Linked DNA regions of Homo sapiens: region 2 is linked to region 1. The links are contacts of gene promoters, found by promoter capture Hi-C in human tissues and cell types (Jung and others, 2019). All regions are on one chromosome and are shown on one strand. The core of a region is centred on a gene start or on the middle of the fragment in contact, and the rest is flanking DNA. Distances in the headings are between cores, read along the strand shown. Region 1 holds the start of MAPKAP1 (MAPK associated protein 1). Region 2 has its middle 6.0 kb from the start of PBX3-DT.

Region 1 (6,013 bases), core at 1,785-4,284:
AATGAAGAGTGCCGATCTCAGTGTTCAGCAGATAATCCCCTCTATCTTACAGCTCTACCAGCAGCATAAACTCAAGGAAGTTATTCAAGGTCTCTGTGCCCCAGTTTCCTCATCTGTAAAATCAGGATGCTAATAACACCTTCTCACACGAGAAAAAAATGAGATAAAGCATTTAACATCACACCAGCAGAGTAAGTACTCATTACCTACCATCATCAGTGTTTCCTTCTCAGTGTTCTATGGTACCTCCTGGGGACTTCTACCTTAGAACCCACAGTACTTTATTATGGTTCACCTGCACACACACAGACATCTCCTCTACTAGAATGTCAATAACCTCAGGATAGGGACCCAATTTTACTTCTTTTTGTATCCCCAAGGTCTAACATTTTGCTTGGCACTGCTGAAATGAATCGTAGATCCTCGAAGTATTTATTAACTGGAAAAGTTATTAGCAGAAACTGGAATTTACCTCCCTTGCCTGGTACTCAAGCCCTCACTGACTCTGACCCCTACCGCCCCTCCAACTTTACGTCCTTGTACCCTGCTAAAAGAAGCAATGACTTGCATGACTCAGGCTGTAAACTCACTCACCAGTCTAAAACCATGCCTCAAGCATTATACCTTTGTATCTTATAGCTATTTATTTCGGGGGACTTTACCACGTACCAGGCCCTTTATCCCCATTAGTTCAATAAATATTCACAACACTCCATGTGGTCAATATTATTCCCTAACCCAACCCCTAGTTGAAGAAAGTGATGCTTGGAGTTATGTGTCGAAGGTCACATATCCTGTAAGAACAGGGACCAGGAATTGAATCCAGAGTCCATGCCTATTTTCTATAGACTGTCTTCTCTGCTCATATTCAAAGCTGAGCTAACTAACCTACCTGCCATCTCCTTGCCTTGGAAGAGCACAGTCTTTACATTTAAAAGATTTCTGTACCATTCATTTTAACATTCATATGTTTTGTCCTATATAACTTTTGGTTTCAATATGTACTTGCATAAAAAGAGGGAGATGATGTGAGAAAAAGGCAAGACATGTAATGGAAAAAGCACAGATTTAGGCATCAGACAGACCTGGGTTTGAATCCTGGCTCTGTCTCCTACCAGCTGTGTAATTTATTATGGGTCTTCCTAATCTGTAAATTGAGGTTAAAATGATTAAACAATAGAAACCCCTATATAATACCCAAATACTCAAAGTTTAGTTTACCTCAAATTATGAAGCATTACCTGGCCACATCCCATCCCTCAAAGGTGAATAACCCATTCCCCTCCCGCACCTACCACTGTCACAAGAACTCTCACACAATGTACTTATCACGGTGTTAGAATTATTCATTTCCCTTATCTCTCTTTCACTAAATTGAGCTCCCTGGCAGCAAAGACTGAATCTTATATTTATCTCTAATTGCCTAGCATGGTACCTGGCATATATATACATATCCATATTCAGTAAACATTTGCTAAGTTAAATAATTGTAGATAAAAATGAGCGCTTATAGAATTCTAGAGGAAAAATCATTTCCAGGTGGGGTTGTCCTGAATTGGTTGGGTGAGGCCAACTCAGCTGAGCCGTGGGAAGCGTCTCAATAGACTGAAAGAGAAAAGGGGAAACCTAGGCAAGGTAGGGAGAATGTTCTACAAAAATCAATGGAATAGGAAAGAACAAAAATGATTAGAGATCCTACTTATTCAGAGTAATGGATCAGGATGGGGTAATTAAAGAAGGAGACCTTTTCAAGCATAACTGGAAAGGTAACCAGGAGCCAGATTAGGAGATGTAAGGGGGTGTAAGTGCAGTCTGGGACACACAGTAGTTGAAGGTAGGCATGAGCACACAGATGAATGGGAAAGGGCTACCAGCATGCCCCAAATCCCGCAGGTGTGTAAACTGAAAAACATGAAAACAATTATTGCTTCATCAAGAACTCTTTCCGTGTTTACTAGGTACCTTGTGTGGGCTCATAAAATATAAGGAATAAAACCCATATCTAGGCTTCTGCTCAAGTGGGTTTTAACATTACGGATCCACCTCTCCTGCTTGTCAGAGAATGAGAACGCTGCTTTTTTTAAACCAATGGGTCTCCATTTGACTCTTCACACCTGGGAAAGTTTTGAACTTTGCCGATTTGGGTTTATAACAACATGGTGCTTTGTACAGTGCCAGGTACTGTGGTGGGCTTCCAAAGTGACTTTCATTCATTCAAAAGGAAGTTTTAACCAATTTCTGAGTCAATTTGGGGGTCTCTGGTTAAAGTCATAATCTTGTTTACGCTACAATCTCTTTTTCCCAGCCTTAAACAAATCTAAATGACTCCTTGCCACTCCCATAAACAAAGAATGAATCAAAGTTCCAGCAGCACTGTAGCTAGAAAAAAGTCTGTAAGGCTGTTAACCTCTTTAAGGGGGAGGGGGAGAAGGGACGCAAGGAAACAAGGACCACACAGTCAATGCTTGAAAACCTTGATTTTCACATTATGAAGACCAGGGCACCTAGATATTGCCAAGTGCAGGCCCAGAAACTGCCGGAGTCAACTACACCCCCCACCCCCACACTACCAGGTCAGCTGGCTTCTTTTCCCCTAAACCACACACCCGCCTCAGACTCCTGACAGCCTCCAGTTCTGGAAATGGCCAGGAAACGAACGCGCCCGGGCCACCTGAACAAGGGCCCGGCAGGCGGCCCGCCGGGCAGCGCTGAAACTGGAGGGGTGAGAGGGCCGCCAGGTGGGCAAGCTGGTGGGCTGACGGACGGGCGGGGAGCTGGCGGCTGGGGCAACCTTTACCTGAAGCTGCTTCCACACTACGGGCCGGGTCGGCCCCGGGACACGTTCCTGAGGGGAGGGCCCGGCTCCCCCACGCCTCCCGGCCCCTGCCCCGAGCTCTGCACTCTCGGGATCCACGGGGACCGGCGCTCCTCCCGGCCCGCTCAGCTGCCGCTTCCCGGGTTAGCCCTCATGCCCCTGCTGCTCGCCGCCGCCGGCCGGCCGAGCAGCAGCCCTATTACCCCGAGCCGCACACGACCCGGAACCACACCCCGGCGTTCCGGAAGTCCCCGACCGGGAAGGAGCCTCTGGCTGGGGACGTAGTGCGCAAGCCCCAGAGCTGAAAGCAAGGAGCGGTAGCTTCCCGCGGGGCGGGGCCGGGAGGGAGGCCGGGCGCATGCGCGCCGCTTCTCCAGTGCAGGGAAAGGCCTGGGTCGGAGACTGAGTTCTGGCAAGATGCGCCAGTGCCTGGACTTGCCTTGAGCAGGAATCAGTGTTAGGCTTCTCCATCGAATCTTCTTTCTCCCCATTTCCACGGAGAAAAGCCCTTAGTTCGTCCAGAAATGAGTGATGAGGCAGCTCAGCCTCTCTGAGAAAGACCTGGGTTCAAATGCCAGCTCTTATAACTTGCTGTGTGTCCTAGGATGTGACACTTCTCTCTGAGCCTCGGGTTTTCCCATCCAGGGCAATAGTTTCAACTTTAGAGTATATTGCTGTGGGAATCGAATGGGATGATGCTTGAAAAACACCCAGCATAGTGCCTGACACATAGTAAACATGCAGTCAATGTTAGTTATTTCTCTTATTATAATATCTGTAATATGGAGGTGACAATAATCTTCCTCAAGCCCTGCTGGGAGGTTTCCAGGAGATGTAGGAGGACTGGCACAGGGCAGAAGTTCAGTGTGTCTCATGCTGCTCCCTTCCTCTCTCACGGAGGAAATCAGTAGAGAAAGCCACGATGAAGGGGGAAAAAGGATTCAGGGAGTGCAGTGAGAGTGGTTCTCCCACCTGAAAGATGCTTGGGGAAGTCTCTCAAAAACGCACCTTAGCAAAAGAAAAAACTCAAGGTTGAATTTCAGCCCTGAGGGACCCCTGCCCAATTTTAAACTTATTAATAAATATGCCATGGGGCCAGGCACGGTGGCTCACACCTGTAATCCCAGCACTTTGGGAGGCCGAGGAGGGCAGATCACTTGAGATCAGGAGTTCGAGACCAGCCTGGCCAACATGGTGAAACCCTGTCTCTACTAAAAATACAAAAATTAGTCTGGCGTGGTGGTGTGCACCTGTAGTCCCAGCTACTCAGGAGACTGAGGCAGGAGAATGGCTTGAACCCGGGAGGCAGAGGTTGCAGTGACCCAAGATCAGGCCACTGCACTCCAGCCTGGGTGACAGAGACTCTGTCTCAAAACAAAAAAACAAAAAACACGGTGGGTCTACCCATGTATTTCAAATATGGTCATCCATCACTTAATGATGAGGACACAAGAAATGCATCGTTAGCTGATTTTGTGGTTGTGTAAACATCATAGACTGTACTTACACAATGTCAGAGCCTACTACACACCTAGGCTGTTTGGTATTAGCCTATTGCTTCTAGGCTGCACACCTGTACAGCATGTTACTGTACCATATACTGTAGGCAATTCTAACACAATGGTATTTGTGTATCTAAACATCTCTAAATGCAGAAAAGGTACAATTAAAAGACCATGTTATAATCTTAGGGGACCACCATCATATGCACTCTGTCATTGACCAAAACATCCTCATTCCACGCATGACCATATGTGATTGATCTCTTACTACATCCCATTACTTTATGTAATTGGTATCTTACCACATATCTATACTGGGGGAATAGTGCACCTCAGCACCCAGACACACTCTTGCACACACACCACCACAGTTCCATCAGGGACCTGTCAGAGGCACTCTAACAAAGCAGCAGGTGTGAACAAGTTTGGATATTTGATTTTCTGAGGTCACCAGGTTATCTGTTCCTTCCTAAATCTTACTCTCCATTTTCCTCTCTCTCTCTCTCGAGTTCCAATCTGAAGCACAGCTGCCTGACTGTCTCCTAGACACATAAAACTCGACCTATCTAAAACTGCTAAGCAGTTATAGATTCTAAAGAGTAAATATTTCCTAGCACTTTGAGAGACCAAGGCAGGAAGATCATCTGAGCCCAGGAGTTCAAGACCAGCCTAGGCAACATGGTGAGACCCCATCACTACCTTAAAAAATTTATCTCTATATAGGCCGGGCACGGTGGCTCATGCCTGTAATCCCAGCACTTTGGGAGGCCAAGGGGTGCGGATCACAAGGTCAGAAGATCAAGACCATCCTGTCTTAACATGGTGAAACCCTGTCTCTACTAAAAAAAAAAAAAAAAAAATACGAAAAATTAGCCAGGCATGTGGCACACACCTGTAGTCCCAGCTACTTGAGAGGCTGAGGCAGGAGAATCGCTTGAACCTGGGAGGTGAAGGTTGCAGTGAGCACACCACTGCAGCCCAGCCTGGACAACAGAGTGAGAGTCTGTCTCAAAAAAATAAAAAATAAAAAAATATATATATACACACACATATACACATATATTTTTTTTAGCCAGGTGTGGTGGTGAATGCCTGTAGTCCTAGCTGCTTGGGAGGCTGAGATGGGATGATTGCTTGAGCCCTGGGAGGTCAAGGCTGCAGTGAGACGTGATCATGCCACTGCACTCCAGCCTGGATGAAAGAGCAATGCCCTGTCTTGAAAAAAAAATTAGAAAAATAAAAAGTGAATACTCACTCTGCCACTTACAAGTTTTGTGACTTCATCTCTCCAAGTTGCTTCTCTAAATATTCTTATCTTTACCTGGAAAATGGGAATGACAGAAGTCCTACATAACCTCATTAGTTTGTTGCAAGGATAGAATGACCTAATACATGTAGCTTACATATAACAGAGCCTGGCATGTGACTATTATTTACTAATGCCTACCAGTATGAGTATACCTCAGTCAGTAAGCAATACTTATTGAGTGCCTATTGAGATTCAGTGGTGAAAAAGCCAGACGGGGACCCTACCCTTAAGAAGCCTTGTAGTCAAGTTCGACTATGGGTTTGAAATACTGTAGTTACTGTGGTAAGTTGGCATGCAGTGATATATGGTAGGATTTCAAGGACAGTATTGAGGGCCCAGTTGAGAATGGAGACTAAATGTATGGTGATACTAATATGATGGCTAGTG
Region 2 (6,510 bases), core at 3,060-5,559, 34 kb after region 1:
TCTCCTAGGTTCAAGTGATTCTCCTGCCTCAGCCTCCTGAGTAGCTGGGATTACAGGCACATGCCACCACGCCTGGCTAATTTTTGTATTTTTAATAGAGACGGGGTTTCACCATGTTGGCCAGGGTGGTCTCGAACTCCTGACCTCAGGTGATCCACCCACCTTGACCTCCCAAAATGCTGGGATTACAGGCGTGAGCCACTGTGCCCAGCCTCAGATGACTTTTTTGTTTTTGTTTTCACTTTTTTTTTTTTTGAGACAAGGTCTCACTCTGTTGCCCAGGCTGGAGTGCAGTGGCGTGATCTCGGCTCACTGCAACCTCCTGGGTTCAGGCGATTCTCCCACCTCTGTCTCCTGAGTATCTGGGGCTGCAGGCATGCACCATCATGCCTGGCTAATTTTTGTATTTTTTGGCAGAGATGGAGTTTCATCATTTTGGCCAAGCTGGTCTTCAACTTCTGATCTCAAGTGATCTGCCCCCCTCAGACTCCCAAAGTGCTGGGATTACAGGTGTGAGCCACCGTACCTGGCCAGATGAGGTAGATGAAGTTTTTGAATCACAGTTCATTTACCAGCCATGTGACCTTGGTCAAATTAAAAAGTGGACACCTTTTTTCTTTCTTCCTCATATCTATAGGCTGTACAAAAAGTAGACGTCTTTAAGTCTTCCTTTCTTCAACTATAGATGGGGAGGTTAAAGCCCATCTCATAGGGTTGTTGTGAAGGTGTCATTAGATGTTATATGAGAAACCACTAGCACAGTGCCTGCCACAAACTAAGCACTCAGTGTCAGCAGCTTTTATTTCCACAACTGTAGCTGTACAATAGGGTTAACATTACTTGTCTTCAAAGTTTTTTTTTTTTTCTGAGATGAAATTTCACTCTTGTTGCCCAGGCTGGAGTGTAATGGCACGATCTCGGCTCACTGCAACCTCCGCCTCCCGGGTTCAAGTGATTCTCCTGCCTCAGCCTCGCAAGTAGCTGGGATTACAGGCATGTGCCACCACGGCTGGCTAAGTTTGTATTTTTAGTAGAGATGGGGTTTCACCAGGTTGGCCAGGCTGGTCTCAAACTCCTGACCTCAGGTGATCCACCCACCTTGGCCTCCCAAAGCGCTGGGATTACAGGTGTGAACCACCGCGCCCGGCCGGGTGTTTATTATTTTAAGCCAAGAAGTTTTGGGATAATTTGTTTCACAGCAATAGGTGATGAATATAGAGGAGAATCGGAGTTTGAAGCACTGGCAGGCCAGATGAGTGAGGTCTGGTTGTTAGGAGAGGTGTTGGAATTCTCAAAATGAAGCAAGAGGTGGAATTACAGGTGCAGGGCTGGCTGTGGGGTGAACTAACTAGATTGTAGAGGGTGAAAGGGTAGGAAGAGAAGAGAAAAGAAAAGGAAGAGAAAAGGAATAGGAAGATGAGGGAAGCAGATAAAGAGAAAGGAAAAGGAAGAGAAGGAGAAAGAAGAAAGGGGAAGAGAGAAAAGAAGAGGAGGAAGAGGAGGGCAGAGAACTGAGGATGAATCTTGGGATGTGGAGGACCGGGAAGCAAATGTTAGAGATTTACCTTTTACAATGGACTCTCATATTCATTGTAATGATAGTTTTTACTATACCTCAGTGTGTTAAGTCTTTTTTTTTTTCAGATGGAGTCTCGCTCTGTTGCCAGGCTGGAGTGCAGTGGCGCGATCTCGGCTCGCTGCAACCTCTACGTCACGGGTTCAAGCGATTCTCCTGCCTCAGCCTCCGAAGTAGCTGGGACTACAGGCGTGTGCCACCACACCCAGCTATTTTTTGTACATTTTTAGTAGAGACGGGGTTTTACCATGTTGGCCAGGATGGTCTCCATCTCTTGACCTCGTGATCCGCCCGCCTCAGTCTTCCAAAGTGCTGGGATTACAGGCATGAACCACTATGCCTGGCTGGTAGGTTATTACTATTATTACTGTCATTGACAGATGAGAAAGCTGAGAGGCTAAATAACCTGACCGAGGCCAAGTAGCCATTTAGTGGTGGAGCTAGGATTCAGATCCAAGTTTGCCTGATCCCAGATGCAGAGCTCTTAACTACAGGGCTACAGTGCCTACAACTGTACTCTTTCTATGTTAGACCCTGGCTTCCTTATTAATTAGGATTAAGTTTGGCTGCCTGTACTGGAAATAAGTATATGGCAGTGGATTTAATAAGACAGAAGTTTATTCCTTCTTCTGTAAGAGCCGTGTGGAAGAAGCAATCAAGGGTTGGTGTTATCCCTTAGATGGTGGCTTCATGGTGCCACCCGTGCCCCAGGTTCTTAAGTTTCTGCTTCACTATCCTAGTGCCTGACCTCCACTCTCAAGATCATTTCATGGGCCAAGATGACTCCTGGAGCTCCAGACATCAACTACAGGCTGGGAAAAGGAGGTGGGGAAAAGGCAAAAGGAATTTGTCTCAATTAAATTAGGTTCCTTTAAGTAGGCCTCTTAGAAATGACAGTCAATTAATCCCAGTTAAAGGCATGGTGCCCAACTAGACTGCTTTCACTTCAGATGCCAGCCACAAGTTCTGAGGTCCCCTGGCCACCTGTACTTCTAACCAACTGGCTGAAAATGTGGGTGTTCCTGTGACCCCTTTAGGTTCTATAATTTGCTAGAATGACACAGAACTTAGGAAAGCACTATACTCAGCATTATAGTTTAATTATAAGGGATATAAACCAGGGCCAGTCAAGTAGAGAGGTCAAGGGCAAGAGCTGGGAGGGTCCTGAATGCAGAGCTTCCATGCTTTTCCCCATGGTGTCAGGGTGTATCACCCTCCTGGCACATCAATGTATTCACCAACCAGGAAGCTTTTCTGGGCTTGGGTGTCCAGAGTTTTTATCGGAGTTTCATTATATAGACATGATTGATTGAATCATTGGCCTTATGACTGAACTCAATCTCCAGCTCCCTCAAAGCCCCAACACTCTAATCACATGGTTGGTCTTTCTGGTGACCAGCCACCATCCTGAGTCATCACTTTAGCATAAAATTAGATGTGATCTAAGGGCCTCATGAATAATAAAAACACTCTTATAGCTTGGGAGATTTCAAGGGTTTTAGATGTTACCTCCCAGGAATCCAATACAAAGACGAGAGGAATTTTTTTTTTTATCATACATCATCTCCCCCACTCTAGGAGCTCCTACTATGTGTCGGGCATTGTGCTAGGCTATTCCATCCATCCATCCATCAGTCCATCCATCCATCCATCCATCCATCCATCCATCCATCCACACATACATCTGTCATATAAGTGTTTATAGTGCTATATCAGCTTTTCTGCAAGATACAGAAAACCCAGCCAATAGGATTTTAAAACAGGAGATGAATTTACTCACAAAACTAGAAATCCAAGGGAAAGCAGTTGCTTCTTTGGCTCAGATGTTGGACCATGTCTGCAGACACCTAGGCTCTCCTTATCTTTCTACCCCACTTACCATGTTTATTTTTGTTTTGAATGAATGTTTTATTTTATTTACTTATTTTTTTTTTTTTTGAGACAGAGTCTCGCTCTGTCACCCAGGCTGGAGTGCAGTGGCTCAGTCTCGGCTCACTGCAAGCTCCACCTCCCAGGTCGACGTCATTCTCCTGCCTCAGCCTCCCGAGTAGCTGGGACTACAGCCGGCTGCCACCATGCCTGGCTAATTTTTTTGTATTTTTAGTAGAGACGGGGTTTCACCGTGTTAGCCAGGATGGTCTCGATCTCCTGACCTCGTGATTCACCCGCCTCAGCCTCCCAAAGTGCTGGGATTACAGGCGTGAGCCACCGCTCCTGGCCCTGAATGTTTTTTTTTAAAGTATTTACAGATAAAAATTAGAAGGTGGTGGGGCCGGATGCGGTGGCTCATGCCTGTAATCCCAGCACTTTGGGAGGCCGAGGTGGGTGGATCATGAGGTCAGGAGATCGAGACCATCCTGGCTAACACGGTGAAACCCTACCTCTACTGAAAATACAAAAAATTAGCCAGGCGTGGTGGTGGGTGCCTGTAGTCCCAGCTACTCCGGAGGCTGAGGCAGGAGAATGGCGTGGATCCAGGAGGTGGAGCTTGCAGTGAGCCGAGATTGCGCCACTGCACTCCAGCCTGGGCGACAGAGCGAGACTCCGTCTCAAAAAAAAAAAAAAAAGAAAAAAAAATTTAGAAGGTGGTACAGAGAGTTCCCTAATATCCCATACACTATTTCCTCTATTATTAACATCTCACATTAATATGGTACTTTTTGAAATTAATGAACCAATGTGAAATGTTATCACTAACTGAAGTGTATACTTTATTCAAATTTCCATAGTTTTTTTTTTTTTTCTTGAGACGGAGTCTCGCTCTGTTGCCCAGGCTGGAGTGCAGCGGCGCCATCTGGGCTCACTGCAAGCTCTGCCTTCTGGGTTCACGCCATTCTCCTGCCTCAGCCTCCCGAGTAGCTGGGACTACAGGCGCCAGCCACCACGCCCGGCTAATTTTTTTAAAAAATTTTTTTAGTAGAGACGGGGTTTCACTGTATTAGCCAGGATGGTCTCGATCTCCTGACCTCATGATCCGCCTGTCTCGGCCTCCCAAAGTGCTGAGATTACAGGCGTGAGCCACCGCGCCTGGCCAAATTTCCATAGTTTTTACCTAATATCCCTTTTCTGTTCCAGGATCCCATCCAGAATGCTAGATTACATCCAGTCCTCATTTCTCCTTAGGCTCTTCTTGGTTGTGACAGTTTTTCAACTTTTCTTACTCTTTATGACCTTGACAGTTACAAGGAGTACAAAGACCAGAGAAATTACTGGCCAGGTATTTTGTAGAATGTCCTTCAATTAGTATTTGTGTAATATTTTTCTAATTATTGGTCTGGGATTACAAGCTTTGGGAGGAAGACCACAGATATAAACCACCAAACCATGTTGATTTTGTCTTCATATTTTCATTTCACTATCACAGGTGGCTGCTATGAGCACTCCAGATTCAGGACTACTTTCAAAGATGGAAAGAGCCAGGAAAATGAAGGAGAGAAGAGCCATGTCTGTCCCCTTTTTTTTCTTTTTCTGAGACAGGGTCTCGTTCTTTGCCCAGGCTGGAGTGCAGTGGCCAAATTGCTGGGATTACAGGCATGAGCCAGCACGCCTGGCCTATCTGTCCCTTTTTTAAAAAATTAGCAAGGTCACCCCTCCTCCTGACAGGCTCAGAAGGCAGGGGACAGGATGCTCATACTTGTTTTAGACCTTGATTGGGACTGAGCACATTGTCTTCAGAATAAAATCAGGCTTCTATTGGTGTAGAAGGAAGTAAGCCAATGGATGGCAGGCCAACAACTGGTCATGTCGGCCCCAACTGTCTATTCTGTATGAAACTGCACCGTACTGGGTGCTATGAAGGGACATAAGAGAGGGAGCATTCTACCAAATTTTTCTAGAAATTATACATTCTGATAAATATTCTCTTTTAAAGGCATCACTTTAGAAGGATGGACTGTTATCCCACTAAATCTTTGGTAACTCAATCAAATCCATCCTTAGAAGATAAACGTTGGTCATATGTCACATGTGCTATCAACTGTAAAGACCAATTCTAAAGAGTCATTCCTGTCTGGGTGCAGTGGCTCATGCCTGTAATCCCAGTACTTCGAGATGCTGAGGTGGGATGATCCCTTGAGGCCAGGAGTTTGAACGCAGCCTGAGCACCATAGCGAGACCTCATCCATACAAAAAAAATACAAAAAATTAGCTGGGTGTAGTGGTGTGCACCTGCAGTCTCAGCTACTCAGGAGCCCTGAGGCAGGAGGATTGCCCAGGAATTCAAAGTTACAGTGAGCTATGATCGCGCCACTGTACTCCAGCCTGGGTGACAGAGCAAGTCCCACTCTCTAGAGAAACAAATCAATGAACAAACAAATAAACAAATAGATAGTCATTCCTAAAGCAATGGAGCAATGATACATTTTGAAAAGAAGCATTTAGTCAGTTTCCCCAAAGTGACAAGTTGGAGAGTGTTACCTTTTCTTAGATGTCTATGATTTAAAAAAAAATCAAATCTGTCATATTATAGTCACATCTTACGACACCTTGCCCTTGACATTTTTATGACCTAGATGAGGAAACTAACAGAGGTGGATGGAGAACAAACAGTGCAAGACTATCTAGTATGGTAGTAGGTTATGTATTACAGGCAACATATACTGAGGGAGTTTATTTATTTATTTATTTATTTATTTATTTATTTATGAGACAGAGTCTCACTCTGTTGCCCAGGCTGGAGTGTAATGAGGCGATCTCACTGCAATCTTCTGAGGGAGTTTAGAGGAGACAAAGATCAGAGAAGACAGGCATCACAGAAAAGCTTCGGAGAGGTGGGACCCAATGTGGCTTTGAAGAATGGTCTGACTGTCCTTAATTTCCCTCCTCCCCTGCCTTGAGACCTGGATTCCTCTAATATAGCTGTTTATTCTCTCTTTATTAAGCACCTAGTTACTTATTTTCATTAATTTTTCAGTTTATCTGTTAAGGTCTTGTGA

The links. The method cuts DNA at HindIII sites, captures the fragments that hold promoters and counts their contacts. A contact is called where the count stands out against the background at its distance.
Region 2: a fragment that was not itself captured here is called in contact with the fragment with the promoter of MAPKAP1 in region 1 in 3 of the 25 tissues and cell types used here (aorta, lymphoblastoid cells and small bowel).

The regions. Positions count from the first base shown.
Region 1 is chr9:125,704,174-125,710,186 of GRCh38, forward strand. It overlaps MAPKAP1 (MAPK associated protein 1), which reads right to left and starts at 3,035. Exons shown (of 12, transcript NM_001006617.3): 1 at 2,798-3,035. RefSeq lists silencers at 2,739-2,968, 3,079-3,248 and enhancers at 2,957-3,251, 3,249-3,408. The HindIII fragment of the contact is 13,511 bases long and covers 1-6,013 here.
Region 2 is chr9:125,736,660-125,743,169 of GRCh38, forward strand. No RefSeq gene overlaps it. Among named protein-coding and RNA genes, the nearest start is that of PBX3-DT, 6.0 kb to the right of the region's middle. The HindIII fragment of the contact is 6,270 bases long and covers 1,175-6,510 here.